4 separate regions of the Homo sapiens genome follow, and all the other regions are linked to region 1. Evidence: promoter capture Hi-C in 16 types of primary human blood cells and fetal thymus (Javierre and others, 2016). All regions are on one chromosome and are shown on one strand. Each heading gives the region's core, a stretch centred on a gene start or on the middle of the fragment in contact. The rest is flanking DNA. Distances are from core to core; before and after follow the strand shown. Region 1 holds the start of ARFGEF1 (ARF guanine nucleotide exchange factor 1). Region 2 holds the start of RRS1 (regulator of ribosome synthesis 1). Region 3 overlaps ADHFE1 (alcohol dehydrogenase iron containing 1). Region 4 overlaps C8orf44-SGK3 (C8orf44-SGK3 readthrough).

Evidence for each region. Contacts are between HindIII fragments. The CHiCAGO score rates a contact against its expected background, and 5 or more counts as called.
Region 2: a contact is called between the fragment with the promoter of RRS1 here and the fragment with the promoter of ARFGEF1 in region 1, in 2 of 17 cell types (fetal thymus and total CD8 T cells). The highest score is 7.6, in fetal thymus.
Region 3: a fragment that was not itself captured here is called in contact with the fragment with the promoter of ARFGEF1 in region 1 in 1 of 17 cell types (endothelial precursors); the score reaches 5.2 in endothelial precursors.
Region 4: a contact is called between a fragment that was not itself captured here and the fragment with the promoter of ARFGEF1 in region 1, in 2 of 17 cell types (fetal thymus and activated CD4 T cells). The highest score is 9.9, in fetal thymus.

What each region holds. Positions count from the first base shown.
Region 1 is chr8:67,340,919-67,347,384 of GRCh38, reverse strand. It overlaps ARFGEF1 (ARF guanine nucleotide exchange factor 1), which reads left to right and starts at 3,604. Exons shown (of 39, transcript NM_006421.5): 1 at 3,604-4,221. The coding sequence starts at 4,098. ARFGEF1-DT (ARFGEF1 divergent transcript) reads right to left here and starts at 3,551. Exons shown (of 5, transcript NR_136224.1): 1 at 3,083-3,551. RefSeq lists silencers at 3,314-3,573, 3,754-3,983 and an enhancer at 3,910-4,590. The HindIII fragment of the contact is 1,332 bases long and covers 2,874-4,205 here.
Region 2 is chr8:66,426,497-66,432,962 of GRCh38, reverse strand. It overlaps RRS1 (regulator of ribosome synthesis 1), which reads right to left and starts at 3,949. Exons shown (of 1, transcript NM_015169.4): 1 at 2,230-3,949. The coding sequence starts at 3,831. The coding sequence ends at 2,734. RRS1-DT (RRS1 divergent transcript) reads left to right here and starts at 3,986. Exons shown (of 3, transcript NR_040434.1): 1 at 3,986-4,021. It overlaps LOC102724687 (a long non-coding RNA gene), which reads left to right and starts at 597. Exons shown (of 5, transcript XR_929013.3): 1 at 597-679. It overlaps ADHFE1 (alcohol dehydrogenase iron containing 1), which reads right to left and starts at 459. Exons shown (of 14, transcript NM_144650.3): 1 at 388-459. The coding sequence starts at 446. RefSeq lists silencers at 206-625, 4,211-4,300 and enhancers at 2,382-2,431, 3,701-4,070, 4,491-4,560. The HindIII fragment of the contact is 6,678 bases long and covers 1,573-6,466 here.
Region 3 is chr8:66,459,354-66,465,819 of GRCh38, reverse strand. It overlaps ADHFE1 (alcohol dehydrogenase iron containing 1), which reads right to left. Exons shown (of 14, transcript NM_144650.3): 13 at 5,355-5,512. Among named protein-coding and RNA genes, the nearest start is that of ADHFE1, 30 kb to the right of the region's middle. The HindIII fragment of the contact is 1,417 bases long and covers 2,252-3,668 here.
Region 4 is chr8:66,773,324-66,779,789 of GRCh38, reverse strand. All of the region lies in intron 3 of C8orf44-SGK3 (C8orf44-SGK3 readthrough), which reads right to left. The region is part of intron 1 of SGK3 (serum/glucocorticoid regulated kinase family member 3); the gene reads right to left. Among named protein-coding and RNA genes, the nearest start is that of SGK3, 64 kb to the right of the region's middle. RefSeq lists enhancers at 1,351-1,852, 4,381-4,881 and silencers at 4,215-4,644, 4,665-4,714. The HindIII fragment of the contact is 1,321 bases long and covers 1,615-2,935 here.

The sequences.
Region 1 (6,466 bases), core at 2,355-4,854:
TCCTGAACTCCTGACCTCAGGTGATCCACCCGCCTCAGCCTCCCAAAGTGCTGGGTTTACAGGAATGAGCCACAGTGCCTGGTCTGTACTCATAATTTCATGTAAAAATCTCCTTTGCCACTCCCTGTGTACCTGTCAATAAAAGATTGAAAATATCCAAGAGCATCAGCTTTATTCTAGAGTCTTACTCTATTTTTGCTACAGGTCTGAGTTAGTATCTTGAGTTTCAAGTGGATAGGAGTGCCCATCTCGTAAGACTACTCCTACCCCCCTCCACCCTCAAGCACCACCACCTTTTGGGTAAACCCAGCAAGGGAAGAGGATGAGTTGTCCTCCCAAAGGAAGATGCAAATCATTCCTTCTGGGAGGGTTAGGTCATATCTCAGAGGAGTTTATTCTTCTGAAACTGACAACTACACTCTTTACCCTCAAATCTTCCATCTAGCCTATCTCTACAAATGGCATTTCCAACTGTTCACTGGTTCCCAGCAGAAACCTGGTATTCATTTGTGACCTCTTTCTCTCTCTAACCTGCACTCCAGTTAATTAAGTCCGGTTTATTCTGCCACCAAAGTATATCCCAAATCTGTCTACTTTGCTCCATCTCCATGCTACCACTGTCATTTCTGGGCTAACCTTTATGCAAATTAGTGAAAGAAGCCTCTTCTTTTGGGCAGACAGTGGGGCTGGATTTCAGCCACACTTGCTCCCTTGTGCCACGATCTCCACAACCTTGCTTGGTGGCCCTGGACCTGACCAAGCCATCCTGCGCTGTTGTAATAAATTTCTTAAAATGTTTTGCCACATCCTCACTTCTCCCCCTCCAATCCATTCTCCATGTAACAGAGGGATTATTTTAAAATCACCAATTTGATCACTTTATCCCCCACTTTTAAAACCTTTCAATGAATTTCCATTGTTATTACGATGAAATTGCAACCCCCTAACATGGCCTACGAGAGTCTGAATGATCTGGTTCCTAGCTCCCTCTTCATCCTGACTGGCACCATTCTCCTTGATCCTTTCAGCCACACTGCCTTGTTTTGTTTCCTGAAACTTGCCAAGCTTCCCCCTACCCCAAGAGACTTTGCCTGGAAAGTTCTTCATGACTTAGTTTGGCTAATGTCTACTCTTCTTTCAGGTCTCAATTTAATTTACTTCTCCCTTCTCTCACAGCACTCTATTCTTTAATCATACTCAACAGATTTGTAATTGTATATTCACTACTGACTTAATATCTTTTCCCTACTCTATACTGTAAGGTCCAAAAGGGCAGGTATCATGCTTGTCTTAGCCTGGTGCCTTTCATTTATCCAAGTTTCTATAAGTTTATAGCAAAGGCCTTCTCTATGCCAGCAATATAATAGATGATGGGCACACAGAAGTGAATAGACAGAGATATGAGGTCCCTGCACTTATGAGAGAAACATGCAACCAATCAACAAGCAAGGCAAGCAGATGAGATGATTATGAATGCTGTGGCACTATCATATCATAGTTCACTGCAGCCTCGAACTCCTGAGCTCAAGCGATCCTTCCTCCTCAGTCTCCTGAGCAGCTGCAACTACAGGTGGATGCCACCGTGCCTGGCTAATTTTTCTTTATTTTTTGTAAAGACAGTGTCTTGCTACGTTGCCCAGTTTCATCTGCAAATCCCGGCCTCAAGCCATTCTCCTGCCTTGGCCTCCCAAAGTGCTGGGACTACAGGTGCCAGCTTGTCTTGTTCATCAATGAATCCCAAGTATGTTTTACGATAAAGCTGACAGCTAAACATAACCGAAGAGTCTGCTTCGTTCATGTAAAGTACAAAATAGTTATTCTAGATGGTTCTTCTCCAAGAGTTCCAATTCAGAAACTAAGACTCCTAACTTGTGGTTCTGCCATCTTCAGCTGTGGCCATAGAAGGGAAAAGAGAGACTGGGCATGGTGGCTTATGCCTGTAATCTCAGCACTGGGAGGCTGAGGCAGGAGGATCGCTTGAGGCCACGAGTTCAACATGGTGAGATGCCATCTCTACCAAAAGAAAAAAAAAAAAAAGGGAAACAGCATGAAAGATTGCTTGTGGGAATTTCTTGTTGGTTTTTTAACAATAGGTTAAGCCTGGATGGCTACACCTAACTTCAAGGGAGGCTGGACAATGCAATTCTATACTAAGAAAGAAGAGTAAATGGGTTTGGTGATCAGCTAGTACCCTCAACAGTACCTGGCACAACACTCCATTATGAAGAAACAAAGATGAATTAGAAATGGATCAACACCTGTGAAAGAAGGGAAGAAAAAAATAAAAGAAATGGAACTTGTTCTAAAAAAGTTTATTAACGTATACACAGAAATCAGTATTATATCTGATCTAAGAGTATAATGAATCCTTCATTTCCAGGAATCTAGAGATAGTCTCTAAAATAAAATTAATGAATTTATAGATTTGTTTCTCAGGACAATAAAGTTTAAAAAAATTAATCTATTTTTCCACTTTAATTTGTCACCTTCAAGTTTTCCATTTTATTTCCTCTGGGTTTTAGCCTTCCTAAATCTGGTCACTTCACTAAGTTCACAGAGTCACTTAAGTTTCTCCTTCCTTAGGTTTGGATGGTTACGTTAGGACAAGCCTATAGTTAAGGCAATCTAATAGAACAGAACAGTGACAGATGCATAGTAAACATTAGGGAACCTGTGTGCGTGGAGCCACAGAAGCTTAGAACTTGGAGACGTGACCCTAGATCACCATATATAATGTTTGCAAATATTTTTATGGTATTCTTTTTCTGCTCAGAAGGAAACTGTAGAAATTAAATACTGCAGAAATTTGAGTTCTACACTCAGACTAAAGCAAACACATGGTCACGTGTGTTAATCTGTTTGTACTTAAAGCTTTTCCATTCTAAACTGGTTTACATGTCCTGGACTAAATCTTAGTATTAAAGGCACAGAAACACAGAACTCTAAGGGACCTCATTCACAACCATTCACCTTAACTGAGTCAATTCAGAAGGGACCTGAAATCTAGAGTTGACCGATTTATCCGACAGAGAGAGAAAAAAGTGAAACATTTTTGAACCCTTATCAATAGGTTTTGGCTTACTTTTCCCAAAACAGAATCCTCCCTGAGGTAGTCGGAGAGCAGAGTCCTGGACAGCAGTTCCGTGCACTAGGGAAGGAAATTTTAGAGTCGAGTGATGCAGGCGGAGACCCTGCGGCTGAGAACGGGCGATGCGGGTGTTGCTGTGACCCCTGGAATGCAAAGGACTGCACCCCCATCAGAAAGTTAGAAAGCCAGTGCAGAGTAGCCAGGAGTCCTGTTCACTCGGCAGGAGCAGGGGTGCCGAGTGGGGGGATCTCTGGTCCCGCAGCTCGGCCGCCACCAAGAGCCCGAAGTGCTGGGCGCGGTGCCACCAGAGGCCCGCCACGCCCCACGCCGCCCTGCAGGCGAACGCTGGAGGCCCCGCCGGGCCGCCGTAGCGCTGCGGCTCGGGCCGCTCCTCCCGCGCCGCCCTCCGCCCCCAGCCTCCCGGCGCCGCGGCAGCTCTGGGCAGGGAGCGCCGCCGCCGCCGCCGCCGCCGCCGCTTCCTCGTCTGCAGCCGTTCGGCCGCTGCGTGACGCGTCGTTTCCTCCCAACATGGCGGCCGGGGCAGGTCGGCGGTGATGGGGGCCAGTTCGCGGCCGCGGCGGGTGCTAATCCCCACAGTAGCCAGGGTAGCCCTTCTCTCGCGGTGCCTCTGAGAGCCGCCGCCACCTCGTCCCTCAGTTCCCGGCAGACAGCCGCCCGGGCCGGGCTCCCTCACCGCCACCAGGGCCGGAGGGACGAGTGAGAGGGGCGGCCGGGACGCGACCCCCGGGCCGGGAGAAGCGGAGGCCCGACGGGCGCGGCCCTCGAGGTACGGCTTCTTGGGGGCGGCGAGGACCTCGACGCCCTTCGCCGACACCGCGGCTGGTCCCGCTCGCCCGCCCCTTCCTGATCCTGCCGCTGCCCTCCACGCCTCCAATCCCCCACCTCCACCCCCTCTCCTTTCTCTCTTCTCTTCCTTCCTCTCCTCCTCCTCCCCTCCAGCCGCTGGGAGCCGCGGGTCGGACGAGCCGCCGCCTCCTTCTCTGCGTCCATGTATGAGGGGAAGAAGACGAAGAACATGTTCCTGACCCGGGCTCTGGAGAAGATATTGGCCGACAAGGAAGTGAAGAAGGCGCATCACTCCCAGCTGCGCAAAGCTTGCGAGGTGGCGTTAGGTGAGCGGGGAGGAGGCCCGGGGGATGGGGTGCTTGTTGTGGGGCGGGGAGGGGGGCGCCTGTGGGGGGGTGGGGTCGCCCGGGGCTTGCCCGAGGCCCGCGCCTCTGACCTCGGGAAGCCCTCGCGGAGCCCTCTGTTCCCTGTCTGGAGTTGACAGGAACTCGGCTGGATGTGGGGCAGAGGCGGGGTAGAGGAGGAAGGGCAGTGAGCTGGGCTCGGGAAACGCGGCAGGGCTTAGGATCGCGGGGCACCTGGGTTCGAGGGATCGACTTGAGAGTGAGAGGATTTTGTTGGTGGTCCGTGAGGTGCGGACTGGATACCACCCTTTGTGATGAAGCAGAAGATGAGCTGTTGTTTATTAGCTTGGAAATTGAGGTGGGGCTGGTATGTCAAGATTGGGTGTGGGAAAGGTTCCGTATCATAATTAACAATAACTTTTTCGTTTGGCGAGGTACTTTGGGGAGATAGGCTGCTGAAGTTGTTTCCTTGTTGACAGTCTTGAGAAGGGGTTTGCAAGAGGTGCAGCCCGTTCTGACATCTCTCCGCCTCCGCCACAGGAAAAACATAGAGTAATATTGTATCTGACTGGGCTGACCTGGAAGAACAAGACCGGTGGTTAAGGGGTGAGGGTGGGGGTGGCGGCATGAAAGCAGGGAAGCAAAGAACCTTTAGATAAAATGGCTTTAGGTGACAAGGGAAGGGAGGGTTTGAAATGAGGAAAATGAAAAAGACAATGACACCCACCAGCCACATGTCTGGACAGTGGCAGCTGCTCTCAAGCTTGAATTGTGATTTATAGTTCAGATGGAAGAGATCTAGTGTAATGAAGCCCGCAGCAGGGAAAATCCAAACAATACCTCCTACCTATGAGGTTAGGCAGATGAGGAGTTGTTAAAGGGGGAACATTGTTAGATCTATTGCATCCATCAAAGTTGAAATCGTTTGAGAGACCAGAACATTTAACACAAAGATACATTCCTAATGTTTACACTTTATAGCACTGGAAATACACTAGGTCAAATTGGCAAGAAAAGGAAGCTTGTTAAATGGGCTTTACAAAAAAGCATTCTTGAAAGGGGAAAAATCCACAATAACTTAAAGTATGCTAGAGTTAAGGAGTCTAGACAACTTAAAATTAGCTTTTAATTATTAAATGGAAGACTACCATTTAATTTGCTGTAATATACTGTAGTTTTTTTTTCCTAGATCGTTAAAATTGGTAATATGAAAAACGTCGAAGAAATTTCATCTTAAAACATTTGAATGTGTAGTATTAGGGGCTTAAGATTATTTTTTCACCTTACTTATCGACCAGAAGTTTGCATTTTGTTATTTTTGTAGCTAACAAAAGACTGTTCCCGGTGTATGAGAAGACAGTTGTCTAGTGGCAAAAACTGTATTTATATCTAGATCCTGAAAGGAATAATATTAAATTGGAGTGAGACTGGGGAGAAAGTGATTTCAGGATTTTTAAAAGAATTGTTATATGTAGGTTTGTAAATTACTTGAAGGTTGAAGAACTTTAGAGAGATTCAAATTAAAGTTTTAAATTTTTGTTTGTTTTTTGAGACAGGGGCTTGCTCTGTCACCCAGACTGAAGCGCAGTGACACAATCAGTGCTCAGTGCCGCCTCAAACTCCCAGGATCAGGCATTCCTCCTGCCTCAGCCTCCCAAGTAATTGGGACTTCAGGCACACCACCACACCTGGCTAATTTTTTTTTTTTTTTTTTTTTTTTGGTGGAGATGGCGGTCTCTCTATATCGCCCAGGCTGGTCTCCAAATCTGGGCTGAAGAGAGCCTCCCACCTTGGCCTCCCAAAGTGCTGAGTTTATAGGCATGAGCTACCTCTCCTGGCCTTAATTTTTTATAATTCAGATTTTTCATGTTACAACATATTTTTAATACATTAAATTGTAAGTATCAAACTGAAGAAATGGAGTGTGTTGTGTGTATGTATATATTTTCCTTCTCCAAAGTAGTAACATAAGTAAGCATATTTTAATGGAGAGCCTACTGGAATGAGAGTCTGAGATCCTAGGTTTAAATCCCAGTTCTGTTACGTTGTAGTATTAGGCAAGTCCCTGGGCCTTAAGTTCTCTGTAAAATTAGGGTATTGAACTTAATGATTGTATGGTCACATCTCCTCTAATGTGCCATAAATGTGATTGCACTGTCCTGTTAACTCGTGCATTGGGTATTCCCTACCACTCATGAGCATCATCTTTAGAGGGCCTATAGCGCTC
Region 2 (6,466 bases), core at 2,700-5,199, 910 kb after region 1:
TTGTATCCCCAGAACCTAGAATAGTTTTTGGCACATAATATATGCCCAATAAATATGTGTCAATTGCATACATGAATTTGTCTTGGCCACCGTGCCAAGCTCTCCACTGCCTGCTACGATGTGGGACCAGGTCCTCTCTGGGCCTCAGTTTCTTTAACGGTAGACAAGCAGAGTAAAGGCTGCCTCACTGCGCCCTGAGAGGCTGCATCGCGCACTCTGTGACCTCGCTGTTCCGCCTGGCGCGCGGTGGGAGCCCAGGGCGGTATCCAAATTCTCCGAATTCTTGAAAGTAAGCGGAGAAGACTGCGCAGGATCTGAGCGGGTCACACCCAGGGGGCTGCGTGGGCACCCTGCGGTCCCCTGCCCGCCCGCCGGCCCCGCACTCACGCTGCGCGTTGCAGTTGCCTCAGCAAGTACGCGACCCGGGCTCGGGCGGCAGCGGCCATGGCGCTTGGAGTCCTCTTCCCTCCTCGGGTCGCTACACCGCCCCCTCCGCCGGCCAATCACGGAGGCTGCCCGCCTCCCGCCCCTCGGCCGCGCCTGCCCACCCGCTTCGCGGGGTCACCTGTCTAAGCCTCAAGCCAGTCGGGCTCAGGGCCATTTTCCCACGGAGTAAGAACCAGAACGCCAGCTGCCCCAGCGGCGCTCGCACCATCCACCCTTGAAATTGCCGTAGAAGGTAACTGCTCCGTAGGCCTCGGGTTCTGCCTTAAATCTCCTTACTTATCAACTCTATTTTTCACATGTTGAGGACTTGGGGGAAGGAAGAGGAACAGGGATATTCTTTTTCCACTGTTAATCCTTTAAAATGTTACTTTCCCTTCTAAGAGTATTTTAAGTGATCAAGACCCTGCCTTTAAACTGTTTTAACAGTAAACAAGAACCTAGCAGAGCCCGAGGGTTTTTGTTAAATACTGTGTGAATGGCTTTGCTTTTGATGAAAGCAAAATCAATAGTTAAAACTCTTACATCAATAGTTAAAACTTGCCATGATTAGACTATGCTCCGGGAGGGCTTGGCTGTGCCATATCTGCCATGTCCCAGTGGAAAAGCTGATTAACGATAAAGCTCAACTTTATCAGAAAGTATCCAAAGACAGTAACAACTAAACATTTGCATTTTTAGTAATCTGTTATTATGAAATCTGAATCCTTTATGGGAGATATTAAGTTTTACAGAAATGAATTTACTGCGATCAAACTGGAAAAGATTGATGGACAGGAAGACCAAGGACAGCTATATAAACATTTCACCTCCTAATCAAACCAGCTCAGGCCAACTTGACAAATGAATCAAAAAATAATGTTCTATGAGAACACATGTACACAGGGAGGGGAACAACACACATTGGGGCCTGGGGGCAGGGGATAGAAGGGGGCAGAGGGACTTAATACTTAGGTGATGGGTTGATAGGTGCAGCAAGCCACCACAGCACACGTTTACCTATGTAACAAACATGCACATCCTGCACATCTACTCCGGAACTTAAAAAAAGATAATAATGTCCTAATTAAGGATCTTATGGGTCTGTTTCTTTCTTCCCCCAAACAAAACTATACCTGACGTCAAGCTTAAAAACAAACACACACACACAAACAACTGGGGATATAAACGTAGAGAAAGATTTAAGTGTTTTCTGGATTAATGAGGATTATTACCATTAGTCAATGAAGCCCAAATTGATCATTTACAGGAAATCCATGTGTTCAGTGTTGAAAGGCATAAAATCTTTTTAAAAAACAGACATCAGTTTTACTACTTTGAATATTATATTTGATACCAAAAGAAGTATAAGTTTAGAAGTGGTATCACTGAAACCATTATAATTGAACTGCTTTTTTTTTTTGAGATGGCCCCTTCCTCTGTTGCCCAGGCTGGAGTGGAGTGCAGTGGCGTGATCTGGGCTCACTGCAACCTCCGCCTCCCAGGTTCAAACGATACTCCTGCCTCAGCCTCCCAAGTAGCTGGGACTACAGGTACCAGCCACCGTGTCTGGCTAATTTTTTTATTTTTAGTAGAGATGGGGTTTCACTGTGTTGGCCAGGCTGGTCGCGAACTCCTGACCTCAGGTGATCCGCCCGCCCCGGCCTCCCAAAGTACTGGGACTCTACAGGAGTGAGCCACTGCGCACGGCCTGCTTTGTGTTTTTCAGAAAGTAAACAAAAATAATCTGTACCAGGTATCCAGGTAACCGGCTTCAAGTACAATTTCTACCCAGTAGTCAGAAAGTTAAAAGTCACACTAGATAAGACATCTTTATTACTTAATCTTTAAAACAGTCACTTGCCTATTCAATTCTGAAACTGTTTGTTTTCTTTCCCTCCCCCGCACTCCCGCTCTGATACACAAACTTGTTGTAAAAATAATGCAGAAACATATACGTCAATCTAAGTCTCTGAAATATGGCCAACTCTACCTCGCCGTATATCCAACATTAAAAAGAAAAAAAAAGGCTGTTTAAGAATAGAACTCATTCCCGGTTTCCACCAAATTATTTCCCTAATTCTTAAATCCTCAAATAAGTTCTTAATCTCCAAAGTCTCGGTTGTGGGAAAAACATTAATTTGTGCAGTCCAACACTTACATACTTTCTTGACGGAAGGGCAATCCTGTCCCTTTAAACTCAATGAAGGCAGCGGCCAGGTCCTTCTGAGTCCCCGTATAATTGCCTAGAACTTAACATTTAGTATTCATAGTCCTTGGTTTACAGACGGGTCCGACAGTTAGAAACTATTACTTCCTCCTCTTTCCTCCTGGGCGCTGTCCTCCTTTTCTCTTGCCACCCAAGCCAGGCGGCCCAGAATTCATCTTGCCTCCCAAGCCCCCTTTCCTCTTCCCTCCCTGGCTGGGCGGGCCCCCTTTCCTCTTGCCCCCAGGCCCCTGCCGGCCTCCCTTTCTCTTGCCCTTCTGGCTCATTTTCCTCCTCTTGGCGGCCTCCTCCTGGTCCTCCTCCCTCATCTGCTTATTGGTGGCCCTAGTCACATCCAGCTGAGGCTTCTTGCTGTTCATGACACGAAGCAGCTCCAACTGGTTCTTTTTCTCGGCTGCAAAGTCCCCGAAAAGGGGTTGAAACTTCCTTTTCTTGCCGGAGCCCCGGGGCACCTTCTCCTTGGGGAGGCGCTCCTGAAAGCGCCCCACAGAGGCGGTGGAGACCTTGGCCACTTGCATGGCGCGGCCCAGCTCCTCCTTACTCTGGTGTCCGGTAGGGTGCAAGCCGGCCGCGCTGGGCAGCTGCATCTTGTGCGCGCGGGCCAGGTTACGCAGCCGGTTCAGCTCGTTCTTGGCCACCCTTTCCTTCTTGGCCTGAATCCGCTTGGCGAACTGGTCCTCCAAGGGGTCGGCATTGCCGGGCACCTCAATCAGCCATTCTTTGGTGTCGTCCCGGGCGCGCTGGTAGCCCCAGCGCCGCCGCCACTGGCCACTCACCTCGTCCCACACCAGGTTGGTCTTCTTCTTGGGACGGATGCCCTTGAGGCGCGCGAACTGCTGCCAGCGTGTAAGTGGCCGCGGTCGGGGCAGAGGCTTCTCTCGCGGCAGGCGTGTGGTGGGCTCCGGCAGCCGCGCCACTATCGCCTCTTCCACGCGCTCCGTGGGCAGCTGCCACAGCTGGTTGATGAGCAGTTGCGTGTTGTCCCGCGCCAGGGCCTGTAGCTCGGCCTCCGGCGTGGGTCCGGCGCACCGCAGCCCGGTCGGGGGGTTCCGGTCCGACGCCAGCAGGTTGCCCAGGTCAAACTGCAGCTCCAGCTCCTTGTGCACCGTGATGCGTTGCAACTTCTCTGCCTCGTCCTGCTCTGCCTTTGCGAGCAGCTCCTCCACGCTCTGGCCCTCCATGGCTCCGGCTCGGCTCACTCGCTTTGGGGCTGCAGCTGAAGTTACTTTTCCTACAGTGGCGGCCCAAACTCCGGCAGCATAACCACGTGCAGATGCCGGGATGCCCAATCCGGAAAAGAAAGGTTCGCTTCCGGAGCGTCCGGAAGCGGCTCGCAATCCGGGCGACCAGAGGAAAGGCCGGCAGAGGGCGGTATGGAGAGATGATGGGATTAGAAGCGGGACCTTTAGGCTGGCGCCAGATAGAGGCGGAGCTGGCCCGAGCAGGCCGCACTGCTAGTTCCAGAGCAGGATTGGGACTACGATTCCCAGGATGCAGGGGGCGGGAGGCGGTCTAGAGGGCGGTCCAGGGACAGCTCGGGGGGCCGCCTAGGGGGTGGTCCAGGGGGCGGTCCGGGGACAGTCTCGCAGGCGGTCTAGAGAGGGCGGTCCCGGGGGGCGATCTAGGGGGCGGTCTTGGGGGGGGCAGTTCAGGGAGTGGTCTTAGGATGGTGGTCCGGGGACAGTCTTGGGGCTCAATCCGGAGGGGCGGGCCGGAGGGTTTGTCCAGGGGCGCGGTCCGGGACCGGGGCGGGTACAAATTCCTGGGACTGCCTGTGGTGTGGGGTTCCAATCAAGTGCGTGTTACAATTTCAGTGTAAATCCGTTGTGAAGATGTTTAGACAATCACCCTTCTTAGGGCCAAATAGTTTCACTGGAGTCATAGTCGGCTTTCAGGGTTCCTAGTTGTGGCCCGAGAAAGATAACATCCCAAAGATACACATAGAGCTAATTGTAGAAGATTCGTTTTGTTTTGGGAGTCAGTGGCTCTGGCAATGAAGCCACCCCGAGTGGGCGCGGGTGTGCACCGACCCTAGTGAGCTAGCTGACTCGGAGATCCGGGATTCTGCAGTTACAGAACCTAGTCTAGTTCAATTAATCTAGTACAGTGCTGAAACTAAGCCACGCTCTGCAGTTACACTGCCTGGGTTCCAATCCTGACTGTGCCACTGTTGGTCCTTCAGCAATTTTACTTGTTGAGGCCGTTTTAAGGCCTGCGAGATAATGATAATAATACTTCCTAGGGTGGTTATAAGATAAATGAGTTAATATCGTCCAAGGGAGGGTTAGACGAGGGCCTGGAGCGTATGAGTACTCAGTACAAATTAGCCAAATACCGATTATTATTTCATTTTCATAGGCTCTGGGAGGTAAGTGCTACATGGTGTTAAGTATGAGTCAAACGGCCTACAATCAGGTATCAGGTCACCATTACTTGGAGAGGATGTTTGATCTAAGCCTTATTTATAAATTGACAAACATAAAACATTAGTTACTGCTACATGGTAAGAACTCAGTATGTGTTAGCTATTAGTATTAACTATGTTATTAATTATTGTATTAACTATATTATTTTCACAGATGAAACAAGGAGGGCTCAGAGAGGTGAAATGACTTATCTAAAGTTATGCAGTTAGGGAATATAAGAACAAGAGATATCTTAACTCTGGTTTTAAGTCTGTAGATCTATTCTCTGCAATGTCGTCCAAGCTCTTGATACTCATTAAAGTGTGGTCTGCATACCAGCAGCATAATATCCCCTGGGAGCTTGTTGGAAATGCAGAACGTCAGGCCTCACTCTAGATGTAATTTATCAGAACCTTTATTTTAATAAGATCTGTAGGTGACTAGGATGTACATTTGAGTATCAGAGGCACTGTTGATTGCGTGGTTTACAGGGTTTATCTTCCTTTCACTGGGGGCCAGGTTTATCCTAGAGGGGGTTATGCTGGAGAATTAACCAATGAAATTAACTTAATAGCAATTAGCAAATAGACTCAGTTTAGTTTCAGCATTGTGCTAGCCTTTCTCATCCAGAAGCATTTTAGAATTTGCTGTTTTTTTTTTCCCCTTGAACCTACTTTAACATTCAGCATCAAGGCTTTAACATCAGTCATCCCATGTAGCCAAGGCTAGGTCAAAGACCATATTAGCTAACTGCCTTGAGCCTTAAACCTTTGGGATTTGCCATAGGAGAGAGTTGAGTGTATTGATATGACTGCTATGGGCTTGGCTTGGTTTCTCATTCATTCATTCACTTGACAAACATTTAATTGAATGGCTACCATGTGGCAGACACTAGGTGCAAAGATAACTGAGACCTTATGGAATACTGGGGAAGAAAGGTAAAAAGAAATTGACTATATAATGTAACGTCATTGGACCTTTAATAGGAAGTACCAGTTATGTAGGAGTTAGCTTCTCTGTCAATCTTCTGAATTGGGAAAAAAAGAGCATAGGTTGACAAGTGTTAAATGGTATGATCTGGATCATACAGGTCAGCTCTTAATTGAACTCTGTTTTATGTTCAGTGTTTTTTTTTTTTTTTTTTTTTTAGACAGGGTCTCACTTTGTCACCCAGGCCGGAGTGCAGTGGCACGATCTTGGCTCACTGCAGCCTCAACCTCCTGGGTTCAAGTGGACCTCCTGCCTCAGCCCCCTAAGTAGCTGGGACTACAGGCACGTGCCACTACACCTGGCTCTTTGTGTGCATGTGTGTGTGTGTATTTTTTGTAGAGCCAGGTTTTGCCATGTAACCCAGGCTGGTCTCAAACTCCTGAGCTCAAGTGATCCACCTACCTTGGCCTTTCAAAGTGGT
Region 3 (6,466 bases), core at 1,711-4,210, 880 kb after region 1:
GAGACCATCCTGGCCAACACAGTGAAACCCCATCTCTACTAAAAATACAAAAATTAGCCGGGTGTGGTGGTGCACGCCTGTAGTCCCAGTTACTCAGGAGGCTAAGGCAGGAGAACTGCTTGAACCCAGGAGGCGGAGGTTGCAGTGAGCCAAGATTGCACCACTGCACTCCAGCCTGATGACAGAGCAAGAATCCGTCTCAAAAAAAGAAAAAAATTATTCTTGCAACTCACCAACAAAAAACCTCAAACAGCTCAATTCAAAAATGGGCATAGGACTTGATTAGTTATTTCTCCAAAGAATATATATATATACATAGCCAATAAGCACATGAAAAGATGCTCACCATCCTTAGTCATTTGGGAAATGCAAATCAAAACAATAAGATACCACTTCACACCATTAGAATGGCTATTACACACACACAAAAGAAAAATAACAAGTGTTGTTGAGGATGTGAAGAAACTGAAGCCCTGGTGCACTGTTAATGGAAATGTAAAATGGTGCAGCCACTATAGAAAACAGTTTAGCAGTTCCTCAGAAAGTTAAACATAGAGTTACTATATGATACAACAATTCTACTCCTAGGTATATACCCCAAAGAATTGAAAGCAGGGACTCAAATAGATACTTGTACACCAATATTCATCGCAGCATTATTCATAATAGTCAAAAGGTGGAAACAACCCAAGTGTCTATCAATAGGTAAATGCATAACCAAAATGTAGTATATCCATACAATGGAACATTATTCAGCTATAAAAAAGGAATAAAATTCTGACACATGCTACAACGTGGATGAACACTAAAGGCACTGTGCTGGGTGAAATAAGCCAGTCACAAAAGGACAAATATTGTATGATTTCACTTACATGAGGTACCTAGGATAGGCAAATTCATAGAGACAGAAAGTAGGACAGAGGTTCCCAGGGGCTGTGAGAAGGGGAGAACGGGGAATTCGTGTTTAACAGACACACCACTTGTTTGGCATGATTAAAAAAAGAGTTCTGAAAATGGATAGTGGTGATGGTTGCACAACATTGTGCATGTATTTAATGGCATGGCATTGTACACTTAAAAATGGTTAAAATGGTAAATTTTATGTTATACATATTTTATCACAATTTAAAAGATAAGTTAAAGCAGGAAGAAAGGATAGAGGGACAGATGAGAGAGGGGTGAGGGACAATGCCTATGAGTATGGGTGAGGTAAAGACAAAGTTTCACATCCCAGCAGATTTTTAAGAGACCCTAAGGAATTTTGGAAATCCATAGCAAGGCAGAGGGTCTCATTATGTATGTGTTTGTGCAGGGTCAAGAACTGAAGTTCAGTGTTTGCTGTAACTGCAGATGATGGCAAGTTACGTTGTTCATAATGGGAGAGAGTCTTATCTGATGAGCTCAAAGGCCCTTGACATGATCCTGTTTATCTTTGGTGGAGCGGTGCAGGACTCTTAGAAGTATTTGAAGCCAAGCCTGAGCTGAGTTTCTGTTTCGCGTTTCTGGCCCCCAGTGATTGGTTAAACAGGACAAGGACATAAAGTTTGTGATATGTCCCTATACATATCAGCTCTGCCATAAAAAAGCTAAACTCTCTCAGAATTAAGATATGTTAAGCAATGATGTGCTATTATTTATAGGCATGTAAGAGTGAAGGACAACTCATTAACATGGGAACGAAATAAATTCAGACATCTACTTTTAGCACGTTCATGAAATAACAACATTTCAGCTGGCCTGTCTACCAGGGAGTGGAAGTGCTCATTTGGGTAGACAGCGCTCCTCAGTAATGAAATGTTTTGATTTGAAATGTAAATGTTTCTTTCCAGGGGTTTTAGAAATCCAGCTTGGAAGATTAATATATTCTTGCCTGCTCCCCTTGCAGCCTGGCTATGGCAGTTGAAAGCCTCTGTACACAGGGCTGCTATTAGCTGCCACCAGTATGGGCTGTGTTTGGTCAAGAATACTGGCCTGGTTGTTTCTTCCAGAGAAAACCAATCCTTCACTGCTGAACAGAAAAGAACCTTCATCAAATGTCAACTACATTGAATAACCTTTCTGGTGACGTTCTTTGGAGGAGCCAGTATATTCTTCTCACTACCTTAAATCCTGGAGATACTAATAAGCGAAGATTAGTCTATTGCATGTGTAAAACTCTGAAGTGGCCACAGCATTCCTGTAAAACAGTCACTGCCATCAAACAAACAAACAAAATTCCATAGTAGTTATTCATCTGCAAAATGGACAAGCTTATTTCTAAGATTCCTACCAAAGTCCTATCGATCTGTGAATATACACATATCTCAATCACGTAGACTCCAAATGAACCTAGGGCTAGTTTAATTAAAATTAACTATATTTCTCTGAATCATGAAAACATGATCAGAGGAAAAAAGGCAGCAGATGCCTTGGGGTGTTTTATGAATACAGCCTGAGGAAAATCTGGCTTCCTACTTTAAGACAGAACTTATATCCAAAAGATTCCATTTACCTCCCATTTTTGTAAAACTAAGAAATTGGTTTTGTCCAATTAAGATTTTGCTATCTGTGATTTCCCAGTATTGCATGTGCACTGAGGCATTCAGAATGATACCTAATTAAGTTGCTATTTTAGTGTTAATTTAGTGCTATTTTAGTGGTCTCAAATGTTAAGCTGGATCTGCTGCTACGTGGAATAGCTTTTGAAAGTGACAGTCTGGGCCAGTTGTGGTGGCTCACGCCTGTAATCCCAGCACTTTGGGAGGCTGAGGTGGGCGGATCACCTGAGGTCAGGAGTTTGAGACCAGCCTGGCCAACATGGTGAAACCTCGTCTCTAGTAAAAATACAAAAATTAGCTGGGCATGGTGGTGTGTGCCTGTAATACCAGCTACTCGGGAGGCTGAGGCAGGAGAATCACTTGAACCCGGCAGGCAGAGGTTGCAGTGAGCCAAGATTGCACCACTGCCCTCCAGCCTGGGCAATGAGAGTGAAACTCTGTCTCAAAAACAAAAAACAAAACAAACAAAAGAAAGTGACAGTCTGACCACAGTAGAATTAGAAGAGTAAACACCTGTCAGTGTGTACTGATGGTCAGCAATCAAATCGCCAAGGGTATCAGACAGTTTCATCTGAAAATCATGGATACCATTCTTAGAGATGGACCCACACATTTTCCTGAACACTTTCCTGGGCTAAACAAACAGAACCTTTTGGAAGGCCCCTTGCAGGGTGGACAGTGTCACTGGGACCATGCCATAAAGCCAGAAGCTACATTAAAATTGCAGTGAATGCCAGGCACTGTGGCTCATATCTATAACCCTAGGACTTTGGGAAGCCAAGGCAGGAGGATTGCTTGAGCTCAGGAATTCAAGACCAGCCTGGGTAACACAGTGAGACCTATTGTGTACAAAAAAGTTAAAAAAATTAGCCTGGTATGGTGGCACACACCTATAGTGCTGGCTACTCGGGAGGCTGAGGACAGAGGATCACTTGAGCCTGGGAGGTCAAGGCTGTGGTGAGCTGTGATTATGCCACTGCACTCCAGCCCTGTCCCTCCCTCCGGAAAAAATCACTATGACCACTCAGTCTACGGTGTCCCTGAGCTTTCATGGCTCCCCTGTCTTTGGTTGAGTCCTAGTCAGTCTAAGGAAACTTTTCAAAAAGTTATCCTCAGTCAGCCATTAAAGCTTACCTAGACAGAGGACTTAGGAGGAGAGGAATGGAGGTATGTGTTCGTTTAACATGTTTACTAGCCTGTGCTAGGTGCAATGGAAAATGGATGAGCCAAGCAGACAGATTCCTGCCCTCACAGGACTTACAGGCTGGTAGGCTTGGATAAAATAACTGTGAGGGCGTTAGAGAGTGTGATTTTTTTAGTGATTTGGTCCCTTGGACGTATGGGTTAGAATTAAGGGTTTGTGGGTTAGCCCAGGGTCTCTCCTATACTTTGAGACTCCTTTGTTTCTTGTTCATTTCTATTTGTAGATGCAATTGAATTCACTGAGCCTGAATCCAAATCAGGGAAACTGGTGGTTCACGGACTACATTTCATTTGTGCATTGGAAACCAGGGAATTCAACACAAACATCCGGATTGCTGATTTTTCTTGAGAGTTGGTAGTTCTACCAACACTGGGACCTGATCTTCTGCTTGGTGATGATAAACTGCAGCTGAGCTGCTCACCCAGTTAGATGGGTCACGTGCTTTCTGGCTTACCAAAGTCCCCACCACTCCCTAAGGCCTTACATGACATTGTTCACTGCTATTCTCTACCTGGCTCCTGTGGACACATGAGTCTATGAACACAATCTATATAAATATTATCTTAAGTGAGTGGTGAGGCTGTCAACATTCTAAGCACTAGCGAAGTGGGGAGGAAGAAGCTAGTTTGAGGCCCTTGCCTACTTGGAGTGGGGTGAGGGAAAAGCACCAGCACTTGTGGCAAGCAGGCTGCTGTGTGAGTGGATGTTTCAGCTGCTAACTCTGTTCCATGGTCAGGGAATGCCTTAGCCTGTGGCAGAAGATCCTTATCCTCATACCCTCATAGCATTGAGGTGACCTCTGCCTTTCCCATATTGGCCAAGAGGACTAAAGGAGTATTCTGGGCATGGCGACTATGGTGTGGTCCACCAACCAAGCACTCATGCTCTGAGCTCTCTGCTTTATGGTGAATTGCAATGAACAGGACCTTGGCCTATTAGGATCTGATGTGCTAGCTCAAGAGAGGTCCACTGAGGGATCAGAGTTCTTCATGAGAACCTCAGAAGAGCAAACTTTACACCTAGTATGATTCTACCGAATTAGGGATGCAGCTCCATTCACATTCTTCACAAAAATTTAAGAAATGAAATCAGACCCATAGTGACACAGATATGTATCAAGTATACAATCTCCCACATTCATCGAAAGCAATTTGGTGATAGTGTTAATTGAAAGGCTATGCCTATTCTTCACAAAATAGTAGAGACCTGGAACTCTTTTACAATGGAAAATAATATTGGTGGTCCTTTTGGAACAGCTTCACATAGTTATTTATAGGAGCCCTTCAAAGAACAGAAATGGGGAAAAGGGAAATTTTGCCATAGTTCAAGATCAGTTTGGTTGTTTTTGCCTTGAATTTTCATAAAGGATCCATCCCTTCATGAAAATTTTCATAAAAGCCTCACCTCAGCTACAGCTGTATGGATGAACAGAAAGGCGAGGGCCTGGCCCTGTTGCACCAGGAAAGGACAGAACTGCTGTCTGCTGTGGAGGAGACCCGAGAACCACCGGGGAGCCCTGGTTTCCATCCCTGCTAGCCCGCCATCAATGCAGCATGTCTTTCTGGAGGCGCTAGGCTCCTTCGCAGGGAGTGAGGAGCCTGCCGGTCTCTTACCTGGGGCAGCGTTCCTTTCACTAGTGCGGGGATATCAGCTTTGGAGTAACCAACAGCTGCTAGGCCATCATCAACATCCAGATCGAATAAGAATTTCCGGAGCGTGTCTGCCAACACCAGCCCTGCATCTTGGATCCTGGCAGTGCGGGTGTCGGCTCCTAGAAGACATAAAGTGCTGACTGTAGGGAGAGAGGAAGAAACGGGCTCTGGGTGGAGTTCAGTCACAAGATCAGTGAATACACCATGCACACCCACGGGGTCTCCCTAACGCCCAGCACGGGGCCATCGTGTGCCTCCCCAGGAGGGCCCAAGTTGGCTGGGGGAGCTCACTTAGCTCTGACATTTCGGAGGGGCTGCCAAGTCCTACATACTTGCCCCTTGTGTGGTAGGAAGAAGAGGAACAAAGACAAGAAGAGAGGTGCAGAACAAGGCAAGAAAGTCGGCTGGTGCTGGGATGGAGGAATGAATATTTGAAGAACACACAGCTTATGTAATTTCAAGGCTTGGAATTTGCTGACATCTAGAGGTGTATGATGTGTTCAACGTCTTTTCCCACAGCAACATCTTAGAAAAAGACAAATCCTTTGCAAACACCCTGTGAGACAAGCTTACAGAAGTACAAAAGCTCTAAAATTAACCACCAAAAAGAAAATAAGCATGATAAAAATGGATTATGTGTGAACAGGGAGGAAAATTTTTGTCCTCTATAGCTATAAAACTTTTAATTTTAGATTCTGTTGCCAAAGGGCAGGGTAGGTTCCTCTAAATAAATATTATAGAACCAGCTGGGCAGGACCAAAGAACATGAAGGCTCTCAGAAAACAGCGTTTCATATGCAGATAATAATGGTATTGATGAAAGAAGATACATAAGGGCAGAATTTTTACATGATTAGTAATTAAGAGGCCGGGCCTGGTGGCTCACATCTGTAATCCCAGCACTTTGGAAGGCTGAGGCAGGAGAATCACTTGAGTCCTGGAGGTCAAGACCAACCTGAGCAGTGAGACCCTGTCTCTGTTAAAAAAAAAAAAAAAATATATATATATATATATATAATAAAAATTAAAAAATAATGCACATAATCATGGAAATGGCAATCTGGAAGAGCCACG
Region 4 (6,466 bases), core at 1,026-3,525, 570 kb after region 1:
TTAATTTCAAATCCTGACCTTACAGTGGCTATGTTATTAGTAAAGACAACATGCAGAATTTTACCTTAATATTTTAACATTTCAAAAATTAGGGTATATATATATATGCCCTAATTTTATACATATATATGTATAAAATGTATATATGTGTATATGTATAAAACGTATATATATAAAAAATGTGTTTTATATATATATATATATATATATATATATATATATATATATTCACACACATACATATACATATATATATATCTCCCCCCTACCTAACAATAGAAACTGCTGCTTCATTCTAGGAACGGTAAAATAAATTTAGACCTACATCTATAAGCACCTAAAATCAAAAACAACAAAAATAAGTTAATGTATGCCCTAGAATGGAAAAACTTCAGTTGAGGTTTGGAAGGCCACAGGAGAAAAGATAAAATTAAGTGACAGAAACATTTACACAAGCTCGAGTCAAGTTTTAATCTGAGTCACAAGTAAAATAAAATCATTGACTCAACTGGAATATGTGAAAGGATATGCTTGTAATATAAAATTCAGCAAAATGTGTTAAATGCTGATATCAAACTTAGTAAAACTATAAACTTCAACAATAGTAAATTCAAGTATCTCATATCTACCACCTTTTTCTGAAGGACTAAAAACTTCTGGCATATATACCTTTCTCCACACATCCAGGACAATCAGGAAAAAGGTATGAAGTTTTTTTTAAGATTAAACAATGAAAGGAAAGAAAGTAAATTACTTTCTGCAGACCAGAGAGAAAGAGAATCTTCAGTCCTATCCAGTATAGAAACAAAGCAAAGAAACAGTATTCCATGTGTCTAGAAATACAAAAACAAAATATATTTTAGGAATAATACTCCACAAAATCCTAAGCTGCAGATATTGCTCAATAAAGTTGTCTTCTCCTGATGGTTTCCTGAATTTACTGCGTACTTTTAAAAACATCTGCCTATCCATCTACATGCGTATTGGACATGCTGCTCTCCCTACACCCACTCCCCTCTATAAATCCAGACCTCAGTGTCTTCATTTGTATCTTTTTACTTGGTACTGACTTTTTCCTTGTCATCTTCTTCATTTGTCTATACTGTAGAAATAATTGTTGAAGCTCAATATTTAACGATTTAAAGGTCTGTTTGATATAATTTTAAGTTCATGTTTGTTTAAAAAACAGTTAAGTGGCTGGGCACGGTGGCTCACGCCTGTAATCCTGGCACTTGGGGAGGCCGAGGCGGGCGATCATGAGGTCAGGAGATCGAGACCATCCTGGCTAACACGGTGAAACCCCGTCTCTACTAAAAATACAAAAAATTAGCCGAGCGTGGTGGCGGGCGCCTGTAGTCCCAGCTACTCCGGATTCTGAGGCAGGAGAATGGCGTGAACCCGGGAGGCGGAGCTTGCCAAGTGCCGAGATCGCGCCACCACTTCACTCCAGCCTGGGCAACAAAGCGAGACTCCATAACAAAAGAAAAAAAGAAAAAGAAGCAGATAAGCAGATGTGGGTCTTATTTTTCCTTTAAAAGAAACTGAAATGTGTGTGTGCATGCTTCTTGTTCTCCAGGACATGAAGCACTGAAGAAAAGACCAATGCCCGAAGCTTTCAAATTCAAAGTAGACTGTGCTAAATTCTCTATGATAGTCACCAGCATTCAGAGAAAGAAAAAACCACTTCCAACTGAACTTACCTAGATATTTGGTAGGGAACGGCAGGGGCCGCATGTGAGGGGGGGTTTGCAGAATGGGAACTCAAAACAGAAAGGGCAGCAGAAGTCCTCACTAGAAACAGGCAACAGCCACTAGTCCACTATGTCTAAATCCCTGCCCACATCGGAGAAAAAGATTAACTCATCAATAAAAACAGAAAGAGAAACTGTCATGAAGCAACACTCATTTTGGGATTTTATAGGACATCACCATTAAAGCCTTAATTCTACTGTCATATTTACAAACCTAAACTGGAACTCATCTCTTCATCTATAGGAGATACAGACTGTAAAAGTGGGCTTTAAATCATGTTGTAGGGAATTCTGAATGTCAGGCTTTTCACTCTGGATTTCATTCTGCAGGTAAGGATGTGAAGTCACTTGAAAAGGGAACTGCAGGGCTGTAAGTGTCAAATTAAAATGAAGGGAATGAAGAAATGGGCTTGGCAACAACAGGAGAGGCAGGTTTGCAACAAAAATGACAGATGAAATAACGTGGTAGCTATTTGCATGTGGGGTACAAAGGTAGAAGAAAGAATTAACATTGCCTCAAGATTTTATTCCTGGGTAACTAGGAATAAATAAAATGGAGGGAGGGGAAAATAGGGCAAAATGACAGTGAATTGGCGTAAATAATTACTAGTCTTGTTGGAAATGTCTGCATCAGATCCATGAATTCGGTACCTCCTGTGTGCCAGGCACTATTTCCAAGCACTTAGGATACAACAGTGAACACAACTGGCAAACAACTTTACCCACATGGAACTTACGCTCTCATGTCAGACAACAGATAATGAATAAGTCAATCAATAGGTCAATATATAAGTGTGGTGTTGTATGCAATTTTAAATAGGAAGGTAACATCTAAACAAACACCCAGAGGTGAAGGAGTGAGCTATACAAAAAGTTGGGGAAGAGTCAGCAACTAACAAAACAGTAGCTCAAAATAATTTCACTCCACAATGCTTTTGAACTTAGCAGCCACATTGTGACATTATCTCTTTGGGACCCAGTCCTACTTCCTTGGGTGAGCATTCAGGGTTCCACTTCCTGACTCCTACCCAATCAAGAAAACTTCGCCAATAAAACAGCGATAAAAAAACTGCCTAGTAGGTCAATTTGTTTATACTGGCTGTTTACATTCCCTACCTGGGAGAAGAGGGCTGCATTTTAAAAGGACAAAACCAAAGCACATTAGAACATGTTTGTACAAAGCTTAAGAAGACAATCATCTTGTTCTCAAAGCAATAATTAATGTAGCAACTTTGAGACTTGTGATTTAAATCAAAGGTACTACTGAAGAATGATTATGAATCATGCAATTAAGCTACCAAGCAGGATAGTGCTGGAAAGGAAAGCCATTCACAGAACCATAAAACTGTCAAAGATAAAGATAGTAACTATCATCAAAACTAGAAATAACATCATCATTTGATTTTATACTTTGTTGATCAGCAGAGCTGAATTCTAGCCTAAGCTCTGCCATTTATTGATTCTGAGTCTTTGGCCTCATCCTTATCTGTAAAGACCAGCTGGTCTGATTTTTCAGATTCCTTTCAATTCTGAGATTCCCTGCAGCAAGCTATGGTTCCTATGATGTTTATTTATGTATTGGGGGTGCTCTGGTTTACTTAGTTTTGCAATAATAGTACAAATAAGCATCCACCCAAAATAGCACAACTTAAAAGTTCTGTATAAAGCGATATAAACTGCTTTTAAACAAACCCGCCTGAACTTGGTGCTTAAAATGAGGCTACATTCACCTTAAAGGCGCTGCCTCTTTTTTGATCCCTGTTTTGGAACAGCCTTCGAGACTGAAGTTTCTGTGGATGGGATTTGGAACAAGGTGGATGATCACATCAGGTAACACCCCTAGTGAAAGAAAAGTAAGAGACCTTTTCTTGTGGAACTCGGTCTAAGAAAACTGTTCCAAAGGAATCCCCAAGCATTTCTAGCAACAGCTCTGAGGAAAGAATATACGTAGGTTTTCCGGTGATGACAATTCTTGAGATTAATGCCCATCTGAATGCATAACAAAGAAAACAGCCAAAGTTTATTGTGGACTATGAGCCAGGTATTAACTCATTTAATCTTCAAAAACTGCTGTATGGTTAGAACTATCATTATCCCCATTTTACATACGCTAAAACTAAGGCATAGAAAAGTTAGGCAAATTGCCCAAGTTTTCGCAGTTAATAAGTAGATTCAAAACCATGATTTTAGCTCCGAAGTCTGCGTGCTTCATCTCCAAGATACACTCCCTACGTAACCCCTGCTGTCCATGTTTAAGTAACAGTCCCGTTTCTACTACACCTTTCTTACAAACTGAATAACACAAAGTAAAAGTAAAGCCCCACCGCAAGCTCACTATCGGGTTTCTCCTCCTGTCCTGAACCACAAACTATATTTTAAAGGATATACAAACTTGACAGTACCTGGGGCTTCTCGACATTTAGAGGGGGTGTGTGTGGAACAACTCAAACGTTTTCTGTCTCGGACCAAGTGCAGTGAATGAGTGCCGCGAAGTCGCAGCACGCCCGGGTGTGGAGCCCGCCTCTCCTCTCAGGGGTTCACAGGAGGGGCCGCCCGCGCGCCCCGCCCCGCGCTCGTGATGGGCGCGGAAATGGCACCGGGGCCCGTCACACCACACCTGCCTCCCGCGCCCCCGGGGTCCCTCCACCTGGCCCGCGCAGTGCCGGGGCTGTTCTCCGCCAAGGGTTCCTCGCGCAAGCTCGATGAGCCACACGCTTACCTTCGGGCACCCACCCCCGGCGCATGGCGAATGGGAAGCGCCGCCACTGCTGCGCCACACTCGGCCGGGACCTGCGCCGCGCCACCAGCTCCCAGCGGCGCCAGCTGCGCTCCCTGCGGGGGCCAAACCTGCAGGCCCCGCCCCCTGCGGCAGGCCCCGCCCTCACCAATCACCACCGGCCACGCCCGAATATGGCTCGGTCAGCCCCGCCCTCGGAGCTCTTCGGCCACACCCCCGAAGGAGCTGCCGGTGGGGTGCAGCCCCAGGGCCTTAATTAAGTAAATAAGCGGGGGAGGAAAGGCGGGAAGCCAGCATTTGGGAGACAGAAAACGAGAGGACCCCCGCGGGGAAGGTGAAGAGAGCCTTGGGCGGGGGCAAGGAATGAGAAGGCACTCTCCCCAGGTTCCCGCTAAAGTGTAGATCTCAAAACAACCGCGCTCATTCAAGACACTGGCATAATCTCATTTTCCTCGGGCGGGGTAGGAGTCACACACGAATTCAGGGCTCCAGGCGTGAGACGTCATTAGGAATGGGATTCAGAGGAGCAAAGAAACGAAGCAATTCCTTTACTAGTCTCCACCACACATCCTTTACTTCAAAAATTGGGGAGTCGGCTCCCAGTAAGAATCCTCACCCCGAGCTTAAATTGTTAATCAATCTCGTTCCCTTCAAACAGCTCAGGCGCATCACGAGAGAGCAGACGCGGCCGGGTTTGGCATGAATGTCCGTAGTGTGCTACTCTAAGGTTTGCGTCTGCGTGTACAGATAAAGGAAAACCAGAATCCTCGAAACGACTTGTTTTAACTATTAATGCATCTGAGTCTGGACAGTGAAAAACGGCTGGAAGCATCAAGCCAATAACCGAGTAGGGCGCAGTTCCTACAGTCCCAGCTACTCCATGGGCTGAGTCAGGAAGATCACTTGAGCCCAGGAGTTCCAGGCCAGCCTGGACCTCATAGCAAGACCCTGTTTCTAAAATAAAAATAATGTAACTAATGAATATGGCAGGGAAACAAAGGGCTCACTTTGCCAGCAAGCAGGATTGACATACGGTAACCTTTATTACAAAAATTTCAGAAAATAATGCCAAGAGGCCAGCCTAGCTCTGTAGCCTTAAGGGAAGTCACAATATCTGAAGTCCTCAATTTGCTTATCAGTAAAACGAGGGGATTTAGCCTGGTGACCTCATGGGCTCTAAATGCCCTCTCATACTCTAAAGTTTGTCCTGCCAGGCTCAACTCATAGGAGAGGGGAAAGGATGCAGGGAAGTATTGTCTAGTCAGGAGCCACTCAGAGAAATTGGGAATTTTTAGAAAAAGCTTCAGGGATCTCCGGCATCACTCATTCAACCTCTCCCTTACAACTTTCCTGTTTGTAATAATAATAGTACACCAGTCCCCGACACATACCCTTATCAACAGTTTCCCTTTTCTTTTTTTGACCAACAGTCTGAAAAAATTAAATGGAAAATTCTAGAAATAAACGAGTTTTAAATGGTGTGCTGTTCTGAGCAGTGTGATAAAATCTCACGCTATCCCACTCCATCTACCCTCAATGTGAAGCCTCCCTCTGTCCAGTTTGTCCATGCTGCAGATGCTACCCACCCGCTAGTCTCTTAGTAGGCATCTCCATTATCACGTCAGCTGTAGAGGTGTCACAGTGCTTGTGTTCAAGGAACCCTTATTTTACTTCATGATAGCCCCAAAGTGCAAGAGTCGTGATGCTGACATATTGTTATAATTGTTGTATTTTATTAATAGTTATGGTAGTTAATCTCTTACTGTGCCTAATTTAGAGAGTAAATGTTATTGTAGGCATGTATATATAGGAAAAAACATAGTTTAGATGGGGTCCAGTACTATCTGCAGTTTCAGGGAACCACTGGGAGTTTTAGAAGGTATCCCCTTGGATAAGGGGGTAATACTGTATCATTCTTGCCCTAACTCAAAACCTTTGACTCTTCCCTCTCAGTCCTCACGTTTGGTCACCAGGTCCT